Regions from separate parts of the Homo sapiens genome. Here all the other regions are linked to region 6. The links are contacts of gene promoters, found by promoter capture Hi-C in blood cells and fetal thymus (Javierre and others, 2016). All regions are on one chromosome and are shown on one strand. The core of a region is centred on a gene start or on the middle of the fragment in contact, and the rest is flanking DNA. Distances in the headings are between cores, read along the strand shown. Region 1 overlaps LY86 (lymphocyte antigen 86). Region 2 overlaps LOC101928004 (a long non-coding RNA gene). Region 3 holds the start of EEF1E1 (eukaryotic translation elongation factor 1 epsilon 1). Region 4 overlaps LY86-AS1 (LY86 antisense RNA 1). Region 5 overlaps LY86 (lymphocyte antigen 86). Region 6 holds the start of CAGE1 (cancer antigen 1). Region 7 overlaps LY86 (lymphocyte antigen 86).

Region 1 (2,970 bases), core at 387-2,886, 740 kb before region 6:
TCCTCTTAGGTTCATAATGTAGTAATGAAAAATTCTTGTGTTGTTCAATACATTTGTAGGTGTGTGTCTAAATGCACATAGAGATTTTAAAGAAAAGTACATGAGGAGGAAGAGAACGATGAAACACAACGAGATATAAATTTGAGCCGGTCTTTACTCATAATTAATTCTCTAACATTTGGACTGCTTTGGTTATATTCCTAACACTATTTCTAAAATTACAGCTGCTCAATATTTGAGGAGTGTGACTCATGGGAGCGTCTAGAATCATGGAATCACACCCAAGGCACCATCCAGAGCACAGCCTGGTTCTCTTGAATACAATTTCAGTGTTGGGGACTCCACTCTCTTTGGAAGCTCTGCTCATTGCTAGAAAGTTGCTCCCTTCTAACAAAAGCCACCTTTCATGCAGCTTCTCTCCGGTGGTCTCACCTACTCCTTCCCTCTTGCTTTATACAGATTAAACTCTTTCCTCCTTTGGGTGACAGGCAGTTCAAAGATGTGCCAGCAGTCTCCTGGCCTCCTCTGCCACAGTCCCTCTGCTCCGCTTGCGACCCTCCAACCACCCCAGAGCATTTTCCTCTCCAGATTCGTGTCTACAAACACATCACCGCTCCGTGGCTGCTGGGGTGCAGGACTGGGGTGCTGGCAGCAAACAAAACCAGAATGGCTCTTCTACAGTCCTCATAGGACCTGGCTGCCAGGTGGCTTCTGCCAAGCTGACTGCAAAGGAAGGGAGACCTCCTTACAGTGTTGCTGCCAGCAAGGATCCCCAAAGGCAGCCATTCTTTCTGTGATGGTGCATTTTGGTTTTGTGCTGGTGAACTGTGCTCCCCGGGGTCTTCTCTGTCTGAGCATACAAACCTTTCTCCTTCCAGTTGCTCAGGCCAGGAGCCTTGGAGTCACCTTTAACCCATTTCTTTCTCTCCCACCCACTTGCGTTTCCTCAGCGGATCCTATTGGCTGTTCTTTCAAAATCTCTCTGGCACCCAAAGCCTTCCCCCACCTCCACCTCTACTCCAAGTCATCTTCATCTCTCACCTGGATTCCTGCAATCGCCTCCCATCTGGGCTTTTCAGTGAGGCAGCCAGAGGGATCTTACCGACACAGGCGCCAGGGCAGGCCACCCTCTCCTGACCAGAGTCCCTTTCAGAGTGGAAGCTGATGTCCCCACCATGGCCTTTGAGGCCCTAAGAGTCTGGCCTCCTGTGTTGCCCTTACCTCACCCCCCCCATCCCCCCACTCCCTGCAGCCCCACTGGCCTCCTTCTGCCCCTCTAAGGTGGGGGCCCCAGCCCATAGCAGCACTGCACCTTCTTGCATCTGCTTCAGGTCTTTGCCTAAATGTCGTCGTCTCAGCAGGGCCTCCTTTCACCACCCTGCTCAAAATTGCAGACCAGCACTTGCCTTGACCCATCCAGTGCTTCCATCCACTCCCTTCCTGCATGAGTTTTCTCCATGACATGAGCACCTGACACACCATACATAGTCACATATCATAAGGGTGGTCTGTCTCTCCCAGAGATGCTGTCAGCTCCACAGGGCAGGGGTTGGCTTGTCTTGTTCTACGTTATCCACAATGTCCAGAACAGCACCCAGCACATAAAAGTTTCTCTGTAAATATTTGTTAAATGGTTAATTGTACTGTGGGTCACACGTCTAATACTTGACCTGTGCCCCTTGCAGGGAGAATACCAGGTTTTGCTGGAACTGTACACTGAAAAACGGTCCACCGTGGCCTGTGCCAATGCTACTATCATGTGCTCCTGACTGTGGCCTGTAGCAAAAATCACAGCCAGCTGCATCTCGTGGGACCTCCAAGCTCCTCTGACTGAACCTACTGTGGGAGGAGAAGCAGCTGATGACAGAGAGAGGCTCTACAAAGAAGCGCCCCCAAAGAGTGCAGCTGCTAATTTTAGTCCCAGGACCAGACATCCCCAGACTCCACAGATGTAATGAAGTCCCCGAATGTATCTGTTTCTAAGGAGCCTCTTGGCAGTCCTTAAGCAGTCTTGAGGGTCCATCCTTTTTCTCTAATTGGTCGCCTCCCACCAGACTCACCTGCTTTTCAACTTTTTAGGAGTGCTTCCTCACAGTTACCAAGAATAAAGAAAGCTGGCCACCATTGTTCATTGTGGTTTGTTCAAAGAATCTTACTACAATGCTGTAGTTAAAAAGTCATTTCCTCCAGATACAGTGCCGGATGCTGGTGCAGCATAAGCAGTTCCAAGAAATTCAGGAGGGTGACAGCCTGGCTAAAATTAGAACACTGGGAAAATGTGCCATTGCTTCTCCTGGGCAGGCCCCCACCCTTGGACCATGAGGGCCGAGAAGCTGATGCAACCTCACGAATAGGGACATCATACTCTCGCTTATCCAAACATTCATTTCACCTTCATCCCTCAAAGCATGATTACACTTGACCTCAGCATATGCTGGCGTTCATTACTGCATTCATTAATGAATGCAAGGAATAACTCCTGAACACTTAATGTGTATCAGGTGCTGTGTTCTTAAGTTGTCTTCTACGATGCTCTCCGTAAATGAGCATGTTGCCCATGCTACTTCCAGAGCCATTTCTGCGGCCCCGTCTTCTCTCCTGGGATGCACTGATCGCATGGTGGGCTGCATAGCCCCTTCACCATCCGACGCCCCTGTCCTTCCAGTGTCCCTGCTGGCCCTCTTGCTCCTGCTAAGGGGCTGGAGTAAGGTGGGTGAGTTGACACTATCATTCATAAAAATGCCACTATATTAGAGATTAAAAGAGAAAAAAATTCCATAGTTTAAAAAACAGTAGTTGCTATTAATCACTGTTTATACATCAGTAAACCACCTAGAATAGCAGGTCAAAAATGCCTGTCAAACTTTAAAACCAGCATCTGAGGTTTTCTGGGTTATGAGCAGGCAAAATTGCAGCAGCGTCCTTGCCTAGGCCCATAATGCTCGAGGGAAAAGACGTGCGTGGTCATAC
Region 2 (3,133 bases), core at 338-2,837, 680 kb before region 6:
GTCCCCAGGTTTATTGTTTTTAACGATCATTTTTTTCACCACCTAAACAGAAAGACCCTGTAGTTGAAAGCAAGAGGAAGCAACAGAGAGAGGCAGTGAGAATCAAATGGCTCAGTTAAGCCTCGGTGTGGCTGGGCTAACGCTTTTTCAGGTCACTCTTACAAGGTAATCCATTCGCCTGAAGAGGCATGCAGCATCTTGAAGGAAGGGAACCGTTGTGGCTAGGTGATTGGGTGGAATGGCATTCCCTCTGGAATCTGATTGCAGAGCCTGATTTCCAGCTTGGTCCCCTGGTCTTCTTTAGCTTTTGACTTCCAAAGTCTTATTAGAACTAGCTAGGTGGCCCCTAGATTTATGTATCCACTTTTGTCAAAAGCAGGCTACGGAGATGGAGCCTAGTAAGGAAAATAAAGGTAAAGTATTATGGCATTCACTCATTAGGGACAAGATGTCCTCTGGTGTACGTCACAAAGCTTTCACCTGCAAGTGACACTCAGCTCAAACCACCTTTAAAAACAAGGATATTCTAATCTCAGATAAGAAGTCCAAGCAAGTTCCAAGGAGATTAAAACCAGTGGTTCAGTGTTGTTGTCAGGAACATAAATTCCTTCAAGCTCTGGGCTCTACCATCCTCAGAACATTGGTTTTGGCCTTAGGCAGCTCATCCCATGTTTCAAGATCCCTCAGCCCTCCTGGTTTCATAACCACATCGGCAGAGACCACTTCATGGTGACCAACCTGTCATGCTGCACAAGGCCTTGTGCTTAGAAGGACCCACACTTGGCTTAGTGCTCTACCATCACCGTCTTAACATCCTTAGTCTTATCTGTGAACTTGTGTTTTACGAGTGAAATCCTATGGGGACAGTGGAGATGCATGTGAGCAGAGGAGATGTACGCAGTATATATGTCCTCCTTTCCTGCTGTCCTATGTGCAGGTCATGTTGGGGATCCCCATAAGCACAGAATTCCAGGGACCCACGAAGCATGGGAGTCAGTGAGACAGACTCAAAGCCAGCACATTAAGCCCACAACCAAGTAAGTGGCAGCACTGACAGCCCTAAGAGGCCATGCTTTTTGTCCAAATCAGAACTTGCTCTGAACACAAAGAAAATAGAGCTCTAAGAAAACACAGAAGATCAAGCAACCCTACTCTATTCTTTTGAACACGTGTTACTTCCTCGTATTAGACAACTACTTCCACTGAAAATGATGACATAGGTTGGGTATGGTGGCTCATGCTTATAATCCCAGCACTTTGGGAGGCTAAGGTGGGCAGATCACCTAACGTCAGGAGTTCGAGACCAGCCTGGCCAACGCGGTGAAACCCCGTCTCTCCCAAAAAATACAAAAGTTAGCCGGGCGTGGTGGTGCACGCCTGTAATCCCAGCTACTCAGGAGCTGAGGCAGGAGAATCACTTGAACTCAGGAGGCGGAGGTCACAGTGAGCCAAGATTGCGCCACTGCACTCCAGTCTGGACAAGAGCAAAACTCCATAACAAAAAAAAAAAAAAAAAAAAAAAAAAGAAAATGACATAGAAGGAAAGACATAAGTGGTTGGCTAATACACCTTAGTGAACTATTTCAGAAGAAAATTCAGCACAATTCCAGCCTATAACTCCAAAAGCCTCAATTTCTTGCCTTGTTCCTGTCCCTTGATTTTTGTCCCCTCTTCTTTCATCGACAGAGCAGAAGGTCAACTGCCTCAGGTGTGTGCAGTCACTTACTGGCCCTGGAAATGTACATCCAGAACAGAATATTATCTTCCTGGCAGCCGTCCCATTCAGCCTGTGCATGGAGCTGTCCCAAGACCTGAGCCTTCTTAGTTTGGTGATGCTTCACTATGGCTTCAACTCTCCAACTTCTGCCCTCCAAGACCATAGTGATAAGAAAACAAAGATCAACTACCCCCGAGCTGGGAGGAGGACTCCTTTTTTCTCTGTACAGCCTTTTATATGTTTAACTTGCTTACCATGTAATATGGATAACCTATGAAAAAGATTTCACGTGTATACCTTTTTAAATCACTTACTCTACTTGTTTGTGAAGACAAAAATAAATTTAAAAAATGCCACAGACTTCTTGCAAGTTAAAGAAAAAAATTCAGCTTCCTGTGTAATAAGAAATATTGTAAGTCACACTCGTAGTCCGAGCTATTTGGGAAATTGTGGTGGGAGGAACACTTGAGCCCAGGAGTTCGAGACTGCAGTGAGCTATAATGGTGCCCACTGCACTCCCATCTGGGCAACAGAGCAAGGAATCATCTCTAAAAAATAATAAAAATAAAAATAATTTTAAAGATTAAAAAATATATTTAAAAGAAATATCACAAGTGAACTATAATTCATCCCAAAAGAGAATATGGATCTTTTCAAAGAGCAACATCAAAATGTCCAAGGCTAGTCATCATTTCTTTCTTGAGAACATTCATAAGCCACTGCTCACCCCTGGACTCCATTTTAAAAACAGATGCCACAGAGTTCTTCACTGCTTAGCCCATTCTCACATCACCAGTCCCCAAGCACGGACCTCACCCCTGGCCAGCCTTCCGGCATGCCAGGCCTCCTCCTCCCTCAAGCCCATGCGGAAGCAGGGAAGTGGGTCACACAGGGAGCCCATGCTATGGGTGGACGTACCCTGCCGACGAAAGTGGAAGGGCAGAGGTGGAGTGGTTTCTTCTTCCTTATTCCTTTATATTCTGTTAAGCTTTAGCAACTCTCTCAACTGACTCATGCATGGACTTGTTCTAGAAGAAACTGTTAGAGGCAGCAGAGGTCTGAAGGTGCTTTAGTTCCACCCCTAGATGAGAGTGACAGTCCCAGACACCCAGCAAGTTGGCATTAGAACCAGAGCTAGAACCCAGAGCTTGTCCCCAGCCAAGTTCTCTTTCATCTGCAATATCTGATTTCCCAGAATCATCCTTCATGGTGTGTTCTGGACCAATTTTTTGTCCAAAAACTAGACAAAAAGATAACTGTTTCATTTCTATTTCTACACTACAGCTCATACAATTTAAAGGAAGGACACTGCTGTAAGAACCATCCTCCATCACCAAAGAAAACTGGTTGAGTTCTTTTTATTTATTAAATAAGACTGGAAAGGGTCATTGTCTTGATCAGCGTTTCTATGCCTTG
Region 3 (2,863 bases), core at 19-2,518, 710 kb after region 6:
ATATGGCACTCTTCCAATTTAAACGGTTGCAATGTTTGTCCACTCGGCCATATATATTATATTTATACTACATATATATTATATAATATATACACTAAGCTAGGGAGTAGGGGCCGAAGGGACGGAATTATCACTGGGGCAGAGGAAACACCAAAAGAAGGCCACTTTGGCTCCAACGCCTACTCTGCCACCAATCACAGGGCTGATCTTAGGCTGAACACTTAACCTTTCTAGGCTTCAGGTTAACTTAAATAAAAACTATACTACTACTTTCTAGACAAGATCTTCACATGGACCAAATGAAGAAGAGAAAAAATTAAAGACAAAAACCAAACATCATTTGGAAAAAATCTCAAAGGAGCAAAAAAAACATATATCCAAAGTAGTCTTCCTACAACCAATTTCCTTCTCTAATACATTCCTTCTACGACAAACAACTATAAAACACAAACGTTCTAACAGTGCCTAACCAGGCAATCTCATACCTTGTGATGTTTCCCGCATTCACTGTGGGTCGTAACACTTAAACTGATAATCCAAGGCTTTAGAAACGCCTTCCCCGAATCCCCTAGATTGGGCCAAGACTCCTTAGGTGTTCTCTCTGCCATTTATGGTGCAACGTGGCACTCTTCCAATTTAAATGGTTGCAATGTTTGTCCACCTGGCCAAAAAGCAAGCTGCCTGAGAGGAGGAAGCATGTTCCCCTAAATCATCATTGTATTCCCCAGACCCAGCACGGTGCTACCTGGCACCCTGTTAGCTATAACGGAGTCGCTGCGCAATAACTGAATGAAAGGTGCGATTACGGGAAAAAAAAAAAAGCCAGTTACTGAATACATTCCAGGTTGGTCTAAGAGCCCTGTGAGGACCCTCCTCCAACTGGTTTTGTTTCCTCATAATGGGATGATGACAATTTCCCAGGAGGTGAAGTTCAGGCCAAGCCCAACCTGAGCTGGTTAACCCCTCCCTCCAGGAGGTAGGATGGCAGGGGCCGAGGCCCAGAGGCGCCAGCCGGCTAGCGGCGCAGACACGTGGGGAGCTGGGTAGCAGCATCCTCACTCCGCCCGTATCTGGTGGCCGGCCCGGGTCCTGCCAGGGCTCGGCAGGCCCCGCTCCCGTCCACCTCTTCCCCTCCGCGCCGCCTCTCCTTCTCACCTGTCGCTCGCCCTGAGCACTGTATTTATTCCCCTTACTCAGTCCCAGGGACTTCTCCAGTAGCGACAACTCTGCGGCCGCCGCCATCTTCCGGCCGTAGCTCCTGGCAGACGCGAGACCTGCAGAACAAGAACCTCCCGCATTGGTGGAAACAGAAGTCCCACTCCTGCAAACTTCAGCGGCGATTGGCTGAACGGAAGGGGCGTGGAGAGCGCGCGCCAAAGCACAGGAGGCGGGGCCGGTGGAAGGGGCGGGGCTGAGGGCGGGGTGTGAGACAGGTGGAGAAGTGATGGTAAATTTCCACTCGAACTGTTGGGGAGCTAGTTACTGGTAGAAAGGCCCCAAGGCCGGGCTTCGGTGGCTGCAGTAGACTGGATCTGGATCTCTAAATGGCAATCTATTGACATGGCTGCCAGCGGTAACTCGTTAACTCATTTGCTAGTCTAAGAGAATTTATATATGATGGGAACTGAAATTTGCCTTAGTTTGGTTCAGGAATCTGTAAATTTGAACAATCAAATTGAATAGCAAAAAGTTCACAGTCCATTAGGAGTTTCTAACGTGTAGCATAATTCATGAGGATTTTAATTGTGTTGTAGTGGTGAATTCGAAAAACTGGTTTTTCTACTGTTGATCTACAGCTCAACACTAGCAGTAGAATTATACATTTAAAGATTATTCACAGAACACGGAGTATGTCAGATAGGGGTCAAATAATTACAGCTCAAGGAAATAAGCCATTAATGGCATTAATGATCTTTTTTTGCAGTACCAGAAGGCTGGTTACATAATTTATGAAGTTTTGGTATATAAATAAACAAGGTGCATAACTTTGCCCCACTAACTTGCTACATTCTTGTATCTTCAAAAAAGAAAGAAAGGAAGAAAGAAAGAAAATTAGTAGTATATGTTGAATATTTCCAAAAGATTTGTGAAAATACAAAATATTTTCCACTTTGAAGAATGAATAAACAAAGTGTGTATTAGTCTGAGAGAAATAGAACAATCCTACAAGGTAACTCATCATTGAATCAGAAATATCAAAGTTTAGTGGGGAATGTTGTTACTGTGTTACACCTTCCCTATCCCAGAATACTTAATGAGTTTACTCTGTCAGCAGAAGTAAACATAAGGAAAAGAAACTTTTGCCAAATCAACATAACAAAATACAAAAGAAATTTCAGTATAAGTGGATTGTTAGGCACTAAATTATCTGTTTTACTTTCCATATTCAGATAATGGAATGACTATTCTACTACTTTTTAAAAGACCAACCCTCTAAGATAATTCACATATCCATTTTCAGGGTTTAGGTACACTTTTTGCTTGTAATAAAACATTTTTTAAAAAAATTAACATTTATCCAATGCCAATGGGTGGTATATTGAAAATAAGGTTTGGCCTTTGCATAATTATAGAAATATCAAATTAAAAAAGAAATCCCTAAAAAACTGAAAGCAGAACAAAGCATATTGTACATCAAATTGATGACATCATCACCCAGTGTGGACCTCTTTTAAGTGACTTTATAGCACAGTCATTTAATTGTATACTCTTAGTAAGATATGCTTTAAGGACAAAATTCATGAAAACCTGTTTTTGGTTCTTTTTGTTTGTTGGTTTGGTTAGCATCTTGGCAGTGTCAGCATTGGTATGGTGCTGTATATGTACTGTGGAATAAAGCAAAGATGCAATCATGTGGTGTTGC
Region 4 (3,065 bases), core at 233-2,732, 810 kb before region 6:
GTCACAGGGCTATAGGAGCCGAGTTCAGTGGGAGCTCCCCAGCCCTGACAGAACATCTTTCTTCAGGAAGCAAGCACTGAGTTGAACTCTCAAGGAAGTGCAGGCAATATGGTAAAAAAGGGGTAAGGAAGGGCAGTCCAGGATAGGCACTAGAGATGCCAGGGCAGGGGAGAGCAGGCAGCAAGGCTGGAGTGCCCACAGCCAGGGAGGCTGGATGGGAAGAGACCAAAGCATGCGAGGCCTCAAAGGTACGTGCAGGGGGCACTGAGAGGCTTTGGCAGGGCATCCCTTGGCAGATGCGCCTTCAGACAGGATAGCTCTGGGTGTAGACTGGATAATGGATTTGGAAGGGGGCCATGGTGGATCCCAGGAGGCCATGAGAAGTCCCATCTAGGGCAGTGACACACACGTGGAATGAAATGATGTATTAGTCTGTTTTCATACTGCAATAAAGACGTACCTGAGACTGGATAATTTATACAGGAAAAACGTTTAATGGATTTACAGTTACACATGGCTGGGGAGGCCTCACAATCATGGCAGAAGGCAAGGAGGAGCAAGTCATGTCTTACATGGATGGCAGCAGGCAAAGAGAGAGCTTGTGCACAGAAACTCCCCCTTATAAAACTGTATCTAGTAAAACTTATTCACTATCATGAGAACAACATGGGAAAGACCTGCCCCCATGATTCAATTACCTCCCACAACATGTGAAAATTTAAGATGAGATTTGAGTGGGGACACAGTCAAACCATATCAAGTGGAAATACTATTTCAGTGACTTTGATGGGGAGTTTCCAATCTTACACTTCCAAATGGTAACAAAGATTGAGTGCAGTGACTCACACCTGTAGTTCCAGCTACTTGGGAGGTTAAGCCGGGGCAGGGGGGAGGATTGCTTAAAGCCAAGAGTTTGAGACCAACCTGGGCAAGACAGCAAGACATTGTCTCTAGAAAATAAAACATTAGCCAGGTATGGTGGTGCATGCCTTTAGTGCCATACTCGGGAGGCTGAGGCGGGAGGATCAGTTGAGCCCAGGAATTCAAGGCTGCAATGAACTATGATCACACCACTGCACTTTAGCCTGGGCAACAGAGCAAGACTATCTCTAAAACAAACAAATAACAACAACAAAAACAGTAACAAAAGAAAGCCCAGCTTTTTGGGCAAGAAGTGACAGCTCAGGACCAGGGACATTATAATACAAATTCCGGGTGAGCAGAGGCCACAGCCAATGAAGCACCATTTTGTCTGAAAAGTACAAAATGCTTCCCCTTCCACCCTTTGAACACCTGCTTTGTTCATCAATAACCTTACAATTGCAGCCCACATATCCAAGCTTCAAAGTAAAAGCAGAGAGCTCAATTTGTGTCTATGAAGCAGCGTGCCGTGATGTCATCTGACCCTTTGTTTTCATCTGTGTGCAGTGGAGACAGGAAAGGCACCACTCATCAGACTCCTGCAGGAGCCATCTGCCAAGCCTCTCTCTTCTGAACTGAGTCCTGTTTTCCGTGGCTATTTTACATTTCTAATGAGAAGCTATTATGTATCACATAGGTTCATCCATGTAGTCCCTCACTATGGAGGACCTGGCCCCAGCTGAGTCTGCACACTAGATGACAAAGAAGCTTTCAGCTTTAAGGCACCTCCAGATATCTAGTTTCCTCTAACAATAAAAATAGTAATAAAAGTTACCATTTATTATGATTGATTTTTTATAGGTAAATTAACCTACATTAAGGGAATGTAACTTATGTGACCTACTGATACCACAGAGTAGAGACAAGATGCAGCCCAGGCCTACAAGACCACAAAGGCCATTCCCTTTGAGCCCTCTCCCCTCAGCCTTTCCCCTCTCCCTCCATCTGAGGGAGACAGAAGCTTGGGTGAGACCTGCTTCTTGAAGCTACATGGTCCAAGTCCCCTCAGTTTCCAAGCACTTGGGGATCACTTGTGGGCTATCACTACAGTGGAAGATAAGCAAACCACTGGGCGTAGTAGGAAAGAGGCCGTTTTCTCAGAGGTCAAGAACTGAAGAAGGGAGTTTCACTGTCTGACCTCCAATGGCCCTACTGTGTGTATGATCTTGGATGCGTCACTCACTATGCCTCAGTTTCCTCATCAGGAGAACAAGAATCATACAACAGGCCCAGAATCCTTTCCCTGAAATCCTTCGGTACAGATGTGTTTTATAAATCAGAATTTCTTGATTTTAGAAAGGTAATAGAGTTCACATTTTATAACACTCCTAACGGAGTCTGGTACAGTACCCATTAACCACAAATCAATCACATTAATAGTATGCAGCAAAACATAGTGAAATACACCCAGTTGAGATAAATTAAAACTATAAACAGTCTCATCAGTTTAGATGAGATTTTTCCACCAAAAGAACTACCTTTAAAAAAAAGAATTTCCTCCTCTGTAGACTTGGAAGACTTTGGAATTTATTTCAGAGTTGCAGAGCCAGGGGTTGGGCAGGGAGGTGGGGTAAAGAGTGGATGACAGAGCTGTGTTTACCTTGTAAGGCTGCTGTGAGGATGAAATGGATCAAAGAATACATGGAATGCACTTAGAAGAATGCCTGAGACATAACAGAAGTGCATTTCGGATATTCTTATTCAATCCAAAAAAGAAAAAACACAGGCTACTTCAAAGGCCATTATTTGTATGTCAAAATTACTGCTAGGATGTTTACTACTACAGGGAATTAGAAGACATCTTCAGAAGAATTCTGAACAAGACCTCATCAGACCTCTTCAGAAGAATTCTGGGTGGATCTGCCGGCCACTGCCAGGAGAGGGAACTCAACAACATCCCTAAGAGTCTGATCCAGAGAATAGGTAAATTATTTTATTCCAAATACCACCTGCCAGTCCAGCAAAATGGGATCTCCAATACTTTGGATTATATGTGCCAAGTGCAAATCCCATAATGGCAGCCAGAAATTCTGGAATTAGCCAGAACTGGAGGGACACACTGAAGCCAGAGCCTGGGATCCTATCTACAACAGTGAATGAGGACCCCTTCTTCATAGCACGTAAAAGAACTCTTTGCATTCTTC
Region 5 (3,177 bases), core at 606-3,105, 760 kb before region 6:
ATGTAAACTATGTAAGTCAGAGAAACTAAAATCTTAAAGTCAGAGGCTTTTTGGATAATTAAATTGTTTTAACCCACCCACAAACCTACTGCAGGAATGATTCTATTCCAAAGAAATGGTTAATAGTAAGACCAGAAGGGGAAAAAAGAACACCAGGGAGAACTAAAGTCAATCCAAATCCAAGCACAAGCTGCTGTTGACATGTTACACATAAAAAGGCTTGCTCTGGGGCTTGCAGGTCCTTCTTAGCAGAGCGGTGAGAAAACTTAATGTCCACTGTGGGTGGCACATTGTGGTGTCACTGGCAGTTGAGCTGTTTGGTATCATTGCCATGGCATTACTATGCATTCCTCTGCAAACTGCATCTCGCTGGCTTTTCTCCAAGCCAAATAAAACACAAAATGGGTCAGGCTTAGTGAGACTGAAATGTTGCCTCCTTTCCCTCTGCCTTGTCCTCAGCTAGCTTTAAGGCAAGCATCACATTGGATTCAAAGACCAGCTGATGCTCTTTCAGTATGATTACTTATGCTGTGATTGACAATGTGGAGGAAATAGCGTATATGGCCAACGATAGGGCATTGACTAAGTAGGTCATTATTCAGCCAAACAAAGGTACAGTATGCTGTGATTTTAAAATGATGCCGTAGATTACTAAATTACATGAAAATATACTTGTAAGAATATTATGTGACAAAGAAGCATGCTATAAAAGTGTAGTCACTGTTGAATCCTATTGTATAAAATGTGTGTAAGTGTATACACAAAAAAACTCTGAAAGAGTACACACTTTAGTGCTAAGAGTACTTATCTCTGCAGATCTTTATTTTTGTCTTTTTTGGAAATCTCGCTTGCTTTTATGATAAATTTGCAAGGTTACTCTTTTAAGTGTTACTTTATCATTACAGGAAAGAATAGAGAGAATAAATTCTCTTCCCCTGGGAATAAATTTAAGAGTTTTCAAAGAGAATTACAGCCTATGTAATATCCAGCGATATTTGGACTCGAATAGAAAGTTCTGAATCAAAGAGTTGCGTAGAATATCAAGGGATGATCTAACAGCCATCCTCTTGCCTGGGATACCCACAGCCCCATTTACTCAGGCTGTGGGCTCACTGAGAAGGAGACAACATTGGCCACTGTTTTACTTTCTTCTCTGTTAAAGCTGCCTTGGTCCTTCTGTCTCCTCTGATAGTATCGAGTCATTCAGATGTATTTGCTTTAGTTGATTGCCATGCTTTCAAACAGGTTCCATAAGCTACACATCCACTTTTAAGACTAAATTGAGCTTCATTGAATGTCCTTAATGACCACAACTAATTCCTAGCCCAAAGGAGGGAAGCTGCAGCCAACTCCCTCAATCCTCAAGAACAACAATGCCGATAGAACCCCTGTGTGATCCGGGAGCTTTGGTCTGGTCTGCAAACACCAAGCGCGCCGTTACCCCAGTGGGTCTCCATCTTGGTCGCACATTAACTGCTCCTGTGCTTTCTGAAGCAATGACCACAAGCCACAGGTCGCGACTGAGCCCTGAAATGTAGCCAGTCTGAATAGAGATGTGCTGTAAGTGTAAAGTACAGACTCAGTTTCAAAGCTTTAGTCTTAGAAAAAGAATGTAAAATATCTCTATCATTGTTCCACTGGTTATGTGTTGAAATGTTAATATTTGGAATATACTGAGTTAAGTAGAATTTATCATTAATATATTATTTTAATCATTTATCAATGATAAGATATTAATATTATATTAAAATTAATTTCAACTTTTAAAATGTGGCTCCTAGAAAACATAAAATTATATGTGTGACTCTCTTTAATGTTTTTACTGGCAGCGCTGCATTATTATCTCCCTTTATAATTTTGAAGCTCCCAACATCCAGGCCATACCCCAGACCAATGATATCAGAATCTCTAGGAGTGAGAGCCAAGCCAGGTGGTGACCAGAAGTGCTCTGTGTTGAGAATATGGGAGGAAAAAACTGTTTTTTCCTACATACACCCTCATCTTATCAGATGAGGAAATTGAGTCTAACTTACCCAAGGTCACAAAGCCAGCGGGGGGTGGAACTGGGTTTCTGTCCAGCTCCAAACCCCTCTGCTGTATATCTTCTGTAAACATAAAGAAAGCTTTGCTAGAGAAGAAGTAAACTCATTTCAGCCCTCCACTAAGACCGGAAAAAGATTTAAAGGGCATAACAAAATTATAGAAATCAAAGGATCATCTTTGGGCATAACCAGCCATTATTATAAGGCAGTGGTTCTCAAAGTGTGGTCCTCAGACCAGCAACATCAGCATCATCTAGGAAATTATTAGAAATGGCAGATTCTTGGTCCCTACCCAGACGTACTGAATCAGAAGCTCTGGGGTTGGGGCTTAGTGATCTGTATTTTAACAAGCCTTTTGGGCCATGTGTTGGCAAACTTTCTTCTGGAAAGGGAAGGATAGTAAACATTTTAGGTTTTGCAGACCATATGGTCTCTGTGGCAATTGCTCAACCCTTCCCTTGCAGAGATAATATGAAAATGAGTGGACATGGCTGTGTGCCCAGATTACATGAAGTGAGGTATGTCTATATCTGCTGCATGTATTTTATAATTGATTTGGCTTTGTTTAATTTATGGACACTGAAATTTAAATTTCATTTAATTCTTACATGTGGTGAAGTATTATTCTTCTTTTGACTGATCAGTCCTGCTCTAAGTGGTTCTGTGGCATGTTAACTTTTGTGAACCACTGCTAGAAGGTAAGTCAGAATCCAGGGCTCTTAGCCAGAGTTACTGAGCACAGGTATGCGGGGGCTGTCACCAGGTGGACACTTGACCTGAGCTGCAGCATAAATTCAGATCCAGGACACCAAGGACAATGCCACACCTGTGCTTTGACTCTGCTTTATAAGACCTGTGCCAAAAAATTAGATTTGGGGCAAAAGGGACTTAACAGATAGGCTGGTCAGAGTGGCAGCTGGCAGGAGGAAGAGCACCTTAGGAAAAAGCCAGAGAGCAGGCCTGGAGGTCTCCTTCCCTCCCCACAGCTGCCATGGACAGTCTGGAGGGCCATTACATTTCTCTATTTCTCAATTACTGCATCTATCAAATGAGAGTGGCCATAATTCATTATTGGGTAAGAGTGGAGACTAAATAAGATATGTGATGTGTCTGACGCGTTAGAAATCACAGCACT
Region 6 (2,962 bases), core at 247-2,746:
CTGCTCTACTCAGATCAGGCTCATTTCCCTGCAGACAGATAATGTTCCTTACGAATTAAGCTTCAGTCATCTGCCCTGGCACGTGCTTCTCTCCTAAAACCTTCCCATCTACCCATTCATCTATTTTCAAAATTCCTACAATGTCTTCAGTCTCTAAATCTCTATCTTACAATTCAGCACTTGGTGATTTCGTTTACTGTTTTAGAGCTTCACCACTGTTTCAAGGGTGTTAGTGTTTGTGTTTACAGATCATAAATGTCTTGAGAGGAGCATACTTAGGGCTTTCCAATATCCCCTACTGCAAATGGACCAGTGCTGTCTACACAGCAAATATTGATTGAATAAAACCTGCATTCCAATGACTTATTTCTATCAAGCTCTTTCAATTTATAGTCATTACTCATCTGCCTGGATTCTTTTATTGAATTTCTGAATGAATAGTTTATTGAAAATTAGTTGTTTTCAAACCTATGTCATCACTTGGTAAAATATAAAAAAGTAAGCCAAGCAGACCAGTCAGGATCAGTGAAAGGCCCAACTTTATGCTCACTTCTCCCTTGTCTTTCAAATAATGCTGCCTGGATTGTGGTGAGATCTGAAAAATTCTTGCTTTGTTTTCCCAATGCAAAAAAGCGCAAAGGCCTTGTTTCTTAGTTTTCTTGTTTGTGAACCCAGCACTTCCAATTACATTTCTACAACTTTGTTCATCCCTCATGTGGCACTGCACAATCTGCCAGTTTACCTTTTTAATTTAAAGTTAGACTATTTTTTCCATCTTTCATTTGTCCTTACAGGTTTATGTTGGATTTTTAACATATTTATCAAATGTTTGAATAGATGTTCCAGAGACATTCTAAAGCTGTTTTAAGATAGGAGTTAAAAGAGGTGTCACGGGAGTTACTCGCAAAAACTATAGTTTTGTTTAAAAGCTTTTTCAGTTGTAAGACAAACTTTACCTTTTTAAAAAGCACTTATCTCATTCATTTTTCACCTCAAAACGAGACACCAAACTTTTTAAGACACAAAAGTGTGCTCACTTCCAGGATCCATAGTTTCTTGGACCCACGCTACGGACCTGGCTCTCCCTCCCTCTGCACCGGGTTTTGTGGGAGGGAGAACGCTTTCCAACCTCCTCCACCAAGGACTCTCACAAACTCGCAATCGGGCTCCCGGAGTGCTGGAACGCCCCTGTGTGACGTCCGCCCGCGCCGGGGGAACTCCGCAGAGACAGGTGCAGCCCGCGAGGCCCGAGCGACCCTACTGTGGGTGCGGTGTCTTCCCAGAGAGTGGTGAAGTTAGGAAGGTACGACCCCCTAGGCCGAACAGCCTGTGGGCTAGCTGGCGCCTCCTGCCGCAGTAAACACAAAGTGGGGTACAGAAACGAAAACTCCGGGAAGAAACGGCCAGCACGGGCCTCGCCGTGCCGGCTACTCAACACGCCTTCCTGAGAGCACAGAACATCCACAGCCCTATACAGCGCGCCATCCAGAGAGCTCCGGACTCCCAGCTCGGCGCAGGGGCGGGACTTCCGCTCAAGTCAGACTTCCGGGCGAGGCGGTGAGGGGCTTCCGGTTGGGGTGGCAGGGTGGTGGATCTGTCGGTCCCGTTTTCCCGTCGCACGTGGTGGCCACTGTTGGCTTCTGAATGGTTTGCAAGGCGGATATCCACGCCAAGGCCTTTGGATCGGCCGTGGGTACATCCGTCTGAGCCGTTCCTTTCCATCGCAGAGCGGCGGCCTCCGGCGGCGCTCTCCAGTCATGGACTACCGGCGGCTTCTCATGAGCCGGGTGGTCCCCGGGCAATTCGACGACGCGGACTCCTCTGACAGGTAGGCGGCCGTACAGTGCCCTGGCTCTGGGTACGGCTCTCTCCTTGACCGCCCCCTTGGGGTGTGGACTCTTGTTTGCGGTTTAGAGGGAGACTAGTGGTTCATCACTCAGCGTCTCTCTTGACAACCCTTTGCCTGTTTCTGCATCCCAGCTGGGTTTTTCTCCCAGTTCACGCGGCAGAGTTAAGTGAAAGCTACTTGTCAAGGGAGTCTGCGGTTCTCAGGTCGGTTAGCGTCACTGGGAGGCAGAGTTGGGGATAGCGATTAGGAAACATGGGTTTTTGCGTTTTAACCACATTTAGCGTTCAACAAATACTTACTAAGCACTTAATATGTACCACGTTCTGTCCTGGGCGCCGGAGGTAACAAGAAGAACCAACTTCCTGCTGTCATGGAACTTTACCTTCTACGTGAAAGAGAGGGCACACCATTTAAAAACCAAATAATGATGTAGACTATGCAAATCGTTTGATATACCAAGTGGTGACTGAATGGGTAGGGAAAGGTTAAGTCCAGATTTGAATGACAAGGAGCTAATCCTGGCAAGAGCAGAGGGAACAGCATTTCACACAGAAGGGACAGCAAGAGCAAAGGCCCCGAGGCCAGAGTGCCTAGAGCACAGTGGAGGTAGTTGAGAAGATTGGTAGGGTGATAGAGAAGTAAGAAGGGGGGCCAGATCATGGAGACCTTTACAAGTGATGGTGAAAAGTTCAGATATTAATGTGGGTCTTATGGAAAGCCATAGGAGGGATTTTAGCAGAAGAATGACATTATTTGCTTGGTGATTTAAAGGAATCATTCTTTCTAGGTAGATGATGTTCATGGAGGGTGGGAGTGGAACAGAGAGACCAGTTCAAAAATAATAAGGTAATCAGATTCAAAGATGGTGGGGACTAGAGCCCAGATCCTAAAGATATGTCTTGGAGGTAGAAGTGGCAGCGTTTGGTGGTAGACTGGACGTGGAGTCTGGGGAAAGAGGGATGAAGGATAACTCCTGCCTAAAAGCAAAATGAAACATATTGGAGTTATTTTGGAATTCCAAGAAAACAGCTTGTACTTTATGTTTACAGTAAGGATTCATCACATGCGGATTTTGTTAATTATTGGGGATGTTTTCAATAAATATATGTATGT
Region 7 (2,838 bases), core at 238-2,737, 780 kb before region 6:
TTTGCAATTACAAACTGTTGTGAATATCCGTTATTTATGTCTCCTGTGTCAGAAAATGTTTACCGGCCCAGTCCTTTTTTTCTTTCTCCAGTTTTCAGCAGCTTAAGCCTGGGCAAAAGTATTTAGACTAATTGCTCTAGTTGTATCAGTTTTGTCCAGTAATGTTTCCATGCACACTAACAGTTTTTAAATGTTCTGAAGACACATGAACAGATGGCAAAAAAAGGCTGAACAATATCCAAACGGTTACAGCAATGGTGTTACAGAGAAGGGCATAGCGTTGAGCCAGGCCTTCTTTAAACTTTGCTGTGAAGCAGAAGAAACTCACACGTGGTGTTTAACTTGTGTGCAGGTCTGCGGGGGAAGGACGGCTGTGATTGTTCAACGGGTGAACTCTTCTCCTTTATTCATCCGAAATCCAATTTCCTGTCTTATTTTTCATGGCAGCTTGCTATCTTTCAATATAATTCTTTTTATATCTTTAGCAAAAGTATTTTTTATTCCCCTAATCAGGAAGGGAATGCTAGGGTGTGTTGATTCTGGAGGCAGAGAAATGAGTCCTTTCCTTGGTTAGGAATGTATTTTGCTGGCAGAGAGACCAAGCCAACCGCAGCTCTGCTTTTCCCCTCCAGCATCCACCTGTAAGAGCTTGTAATCTTTTATTGTTCATGGCCCCGGGATCCTATTCCCGGATGGTCTATGTGAAATGAAGAGAAAGTACAAGCAAGTTCAGATTTCCCATAGAAACACCTCCCTCCTTCCTGTCCAGGAGAGCTCTATTGCAGAGTTGGAGCATCCAGCAGACCCACCCTGGCTTCATCTCATTGACATAAGAGATGCAGAAAGAAATGGCGAATTGGCTTTGGGAATGAAGAATTTGACTTCCCTGGTTCCAGTTCAAGACATACGGGTGGGAACTCCCACTGGGTATCCACTCTGCTTTCTTGGGAAAGCTTCACGGTATCTTTAGGAAGGAAGCCTGGGATTCCACACCCTGGAGATACTGGATCTCTTATTCTCTATGCACTTCCTTACACACTTTCTCTTCCTTCAAGGGCCTCTCAGTTGAGGCACTACTCCACCTTAAATCCAGGTGGCCACATTCAGAAGCACTGTCACGCTGGCCTCTCAGCAACATGCTAACACAGAAAAGGAGGCTGTTTATGAGTCAGCTCTGCCAACAGGATTGCTTCCTAGGAAAAGTGCAAATTGATTTTTTTCCTCCTGTTGGTCTGCTGGGGGATTGGAGGCAGCCACGGACAATTCATTAGCACATGTAGGAAGGCCAGGGAGAAAAATAAGCTAAGTTGCTCTCATACTAGAAAGCATTTAGGAAGCAAACCCATAAACATGGATAATTATTGTGTGTCCATTAAAATTTAAAAAAAAAAAAAGAATTCGTGCTTGTTCTGTAGGCCTCTGTGTATGGCCAAGATTGGCTACAGGGCCCTGAACATTGCAAGAAACGTTTGCACTGGCAAGGAAGGGTGCTGGCCTCTATTTTTGTAGAAACAGGGTCTATGTTGCTCAGGCTGGTCGTGAACTCCTGGGCTCCAGCGATCCTCCTGCCCAGGCCTCCCAAAGTGTTGGAATTACACACATGAGCCACCACGCCCAGCCAGGATCTGTATGGTGGTGCTTATACGCAGTAACCCTGCATAGAACTACAAGAGCGAACACGTGCGTGCGTGTGAAAACCGCTAAAACCTGAGTACAGTCTGTAGAGTACACCAGTGTCAATGACTAGGTTTTGATACGTGGTTCTGTAAGATGTTACCATGAAGGGAAGTGGGTGAAAGTACACAGGGCACCTCTGTACTCTTTGTGTAGCTTCCTATGTCTATCATTATTTCAAGATAAAAAGATTTTATTTTAAAAAAATGGCCTGAAGCTCTTGAGCCTGAGGCTACGCATCTCCCTCTGCCTTTATGACCCACAGTGCAGGCCCTGAGCCCCCAGAGTCTGGGCTCCACTGCCCTGGCCTCTGGGGCATCTGAGAAGCCTGGTACAGGAAGGAAGCATGAAGCTTAAAATAGTGCTCAGTTCCTCCTTTTACAAGTGAAGAAACGGAAGCTTAGGGGGGGGCAAGGTGAGTGCTAGCTGATGCCCTGATTTACTGCCTGAGTTACATGGAAGCTTCTGTCCCTAGGAACATACCAAGACAGTCTGCCCTAAAATGGTCAAGCTAGAAGGCCAAAGCGAGGGAGGGCTGGGGTTTTGTTTTGTGGGGTGTGTGTGTGCATTCTCATGTGTGTATTTAAGGGCTGCAAAGGACATACTGGTTTTGATGTCACACTATGAGCACAAATGGTGTAGAAATTCTATTCCACAACATGAGCGATGTTCAGCAAAGTCAGTAAGAAGGTGAGCATGTCTGAGCTTACCTGCAAGATGAAGGCCTGTGATGACGGTGGAAACTCTTTCTGACCCCAGCAGCCACAGAAATTTGTATTTTGCCAAGGAAGGCTCCTTCTTTGAAAATATATAGGAAGAAGACAGAAGTCTACCTTTCTGATACCACTTTAAGCAATAGAGGAAAAGAAAATTATCTTGTTTTTCCACTGTCCTTCCAGGGGTGATTCTAGGACCGTTAAGATCTGGCCGTGTCTGAGCAAACACCAGCCACCTCCGACCTCCAGCCTTTCAAAGAAACAAGCTGGACTGTTTGCATTTATATGATTCAAAATGAAGGTCACAAAAGCACAACTGACTTGATTTTATGAAGAGCTTTTGTTGACAAACGTGAAGTTCCCAGAATACACAGTCTTTGGGACTTGAGTTTTTTTGTATATATTATTCTCTGTGCCTGAGTTGGTAGAAAAGAGCCTACATAACATA

What was found. Contacts are between HindIII fragments. The CHiCAGO score rates a contact against its expected background, and 5 or more counts as called.
Region 1: a contact is called between a fragment that was not itself captured here and the fragment with the promoter of CAGE1 in region 6, in 6 of 17 cell types (erythroblasts, naive B cells, naive CD4 T cells and 3 more). The highest score is 9.6, in erythroblasts.
Region 2: a contact is called between a fragment that was not itself captured here and the fragment with the promoter of CAGE1 in region 6, in 3 of 17 cell types (fetal thymus, naive CD4 T cells and non-activated CD4 T cells). The highest score is 7.6, in fetal thymus.
Region 3: a contact is called between the fragment with the promoter of EEF1E1 here and the fragment with the promoter of CAGE1 in region 6, in 1 of 17 cell types (total CD8 T cells). The highest score is 5.6, in total CD8 T cells.
Region 4: a contact is called between a fragment that was not itself captured here and the fragment with the promoter of CAGE1 in region 6, in 3 of 17 cell types (fetal thymus, non-activated CD4 T cells and naive CD4 T cells). The highest score is 8.0, in fetal thymus.
Region 5: a contact is called between a fragment that was not itself captured here and the fragment with the promoter of CAGE1 in region 6, in 1 of 17 cell types (monocytes). The highest score is 5.4, in monocytes.
Region 7: a fragment that was not itself captured here is called in contact with the fragment with the promoter of CAGE1 in region 6 in 8 of 17 cell types (naive CD4 T cells, activated CD4 T cells, total B cells and 5 more); the score reaches 10.9 in naive CD4 T cells.

The regions. Positions count from the first base shown.
Region 1 is chr6:6,652,859-6,655,828 of GRCh38, forward strand. LY86 (lymphocyte antigen 86) reads left to right here. Exons shown (of 5, transcript NM_004271.4): 5 at 1,686-2,124. The coding sequence ends at 1,769. Among named protein-coding and RNA genes, the nearest start is that of LY86-AS1, 32 kb to the left of the region's middle. RefSeq lists a silencer at 999-1,189. The HindIII fragment of the contact is 4,773 bases long and covers 1-2,970 here.
Region 2 is chr6:6,704,684-6,707,816 of GRCh38, forward strand. All of the region lies in intron 4 of LOC101928004 (a long non-coding RNA gene), which reads right to left. Among named protein-coding and RNA genes, the nearest start is that of LY86-AS1, 83 kb to the left of the region's middle. The HindIII fragment of the contact is 2,232 bases long and covers 472-2,703 here.
Region 3 is chr6:8,101,280-8,104,142 of GRCh38, forward strand. EEF1E1 (eukaryotic translation elongation factor 1 epsilon 1) reads right to left here and starts at 1,269. Exons shown (of 4, transcript NM_004280.5): 1 at 1,156-1,269. The coding sequence starts at 1,242. EEF1E1-BLOC1S5 (EEF1E1-BLOC1S5 readthrough (NMD candidate)) reads right to left here and starts at 1,316. Exons shown (of 7, transcript NR_037618.1): 1 at 1,156-1,316. RefSeq lists silencers at 668-853, 1,062-1,181, 1,322-1,521. The HindIII fragment of the contact is 8,997 bases long and covers 1-2,863 here.
Region 4 is chr6:6,579,826-6,582,890 of GRCh38, forward strand. All of the region lies in intron 1 of LY86-AS1 (LY86 antisense RNA 1), which reads right to left. Among named protein-coding and RNA genes, the nearest start is that of LY86, 7.4 kb to the right of the region's middle. The HindIII fragment of the contact is 289 bases long and covers 1,339-1,627 here.
Region 5 is chr6:6,629,273-6,632,449 of GRCh38, forward strand. The region is part of intron 3 of LY86 (lymphocyte antigen 86); the gene reads left to right. Among named protein-coding and RNA genes, the nearest start is that of LY86-AS1, 8.0 kb to the left of the region's middle. The HindIII fragment of the contact is 532 bases long and covers 1,590-2,121 here.
Region 6 is chr6:7,388,246-7,391,207 of GRCh38, forward strand. CAGE1 (cancer antigen 1) reads right to left here and starts at 1,497. Exons shown (of 14, transcript NM_001170692.2): 1 at 957-1,497. RIOK1 (RIO kinase 1) reads left to right here and starts at 1,563. Exons shown (of 17, transcript NM_031480.3): 1 at 1,563-1,828. The coding sequence starts at 1,758. RefSeq lists enhancers at 1,176-1,235, 1,246-1,295, 1,426-1,845, 1,449-2,235. The HindIII fragment of the contact is 2,322 bases long and covers 928-2,962 here.
Region 7 is chr6:6,608,467-6,611,304 of GRCh38, forward strand. All of the region lies in intron 1 of LY86 (lymphocyte antigen 86), which reads left to right. All of the region lies in intron 1 of LY86-AS1 (LY86 antisense RNA 1), which reads right to left. Among named protein-coding and RNA genes, the nearest start is that of LY86-AS1, 13 kb to the right of the region's middle. The HindIII fragment of the contact is 1,073 bases long and covers 952-2,024 here.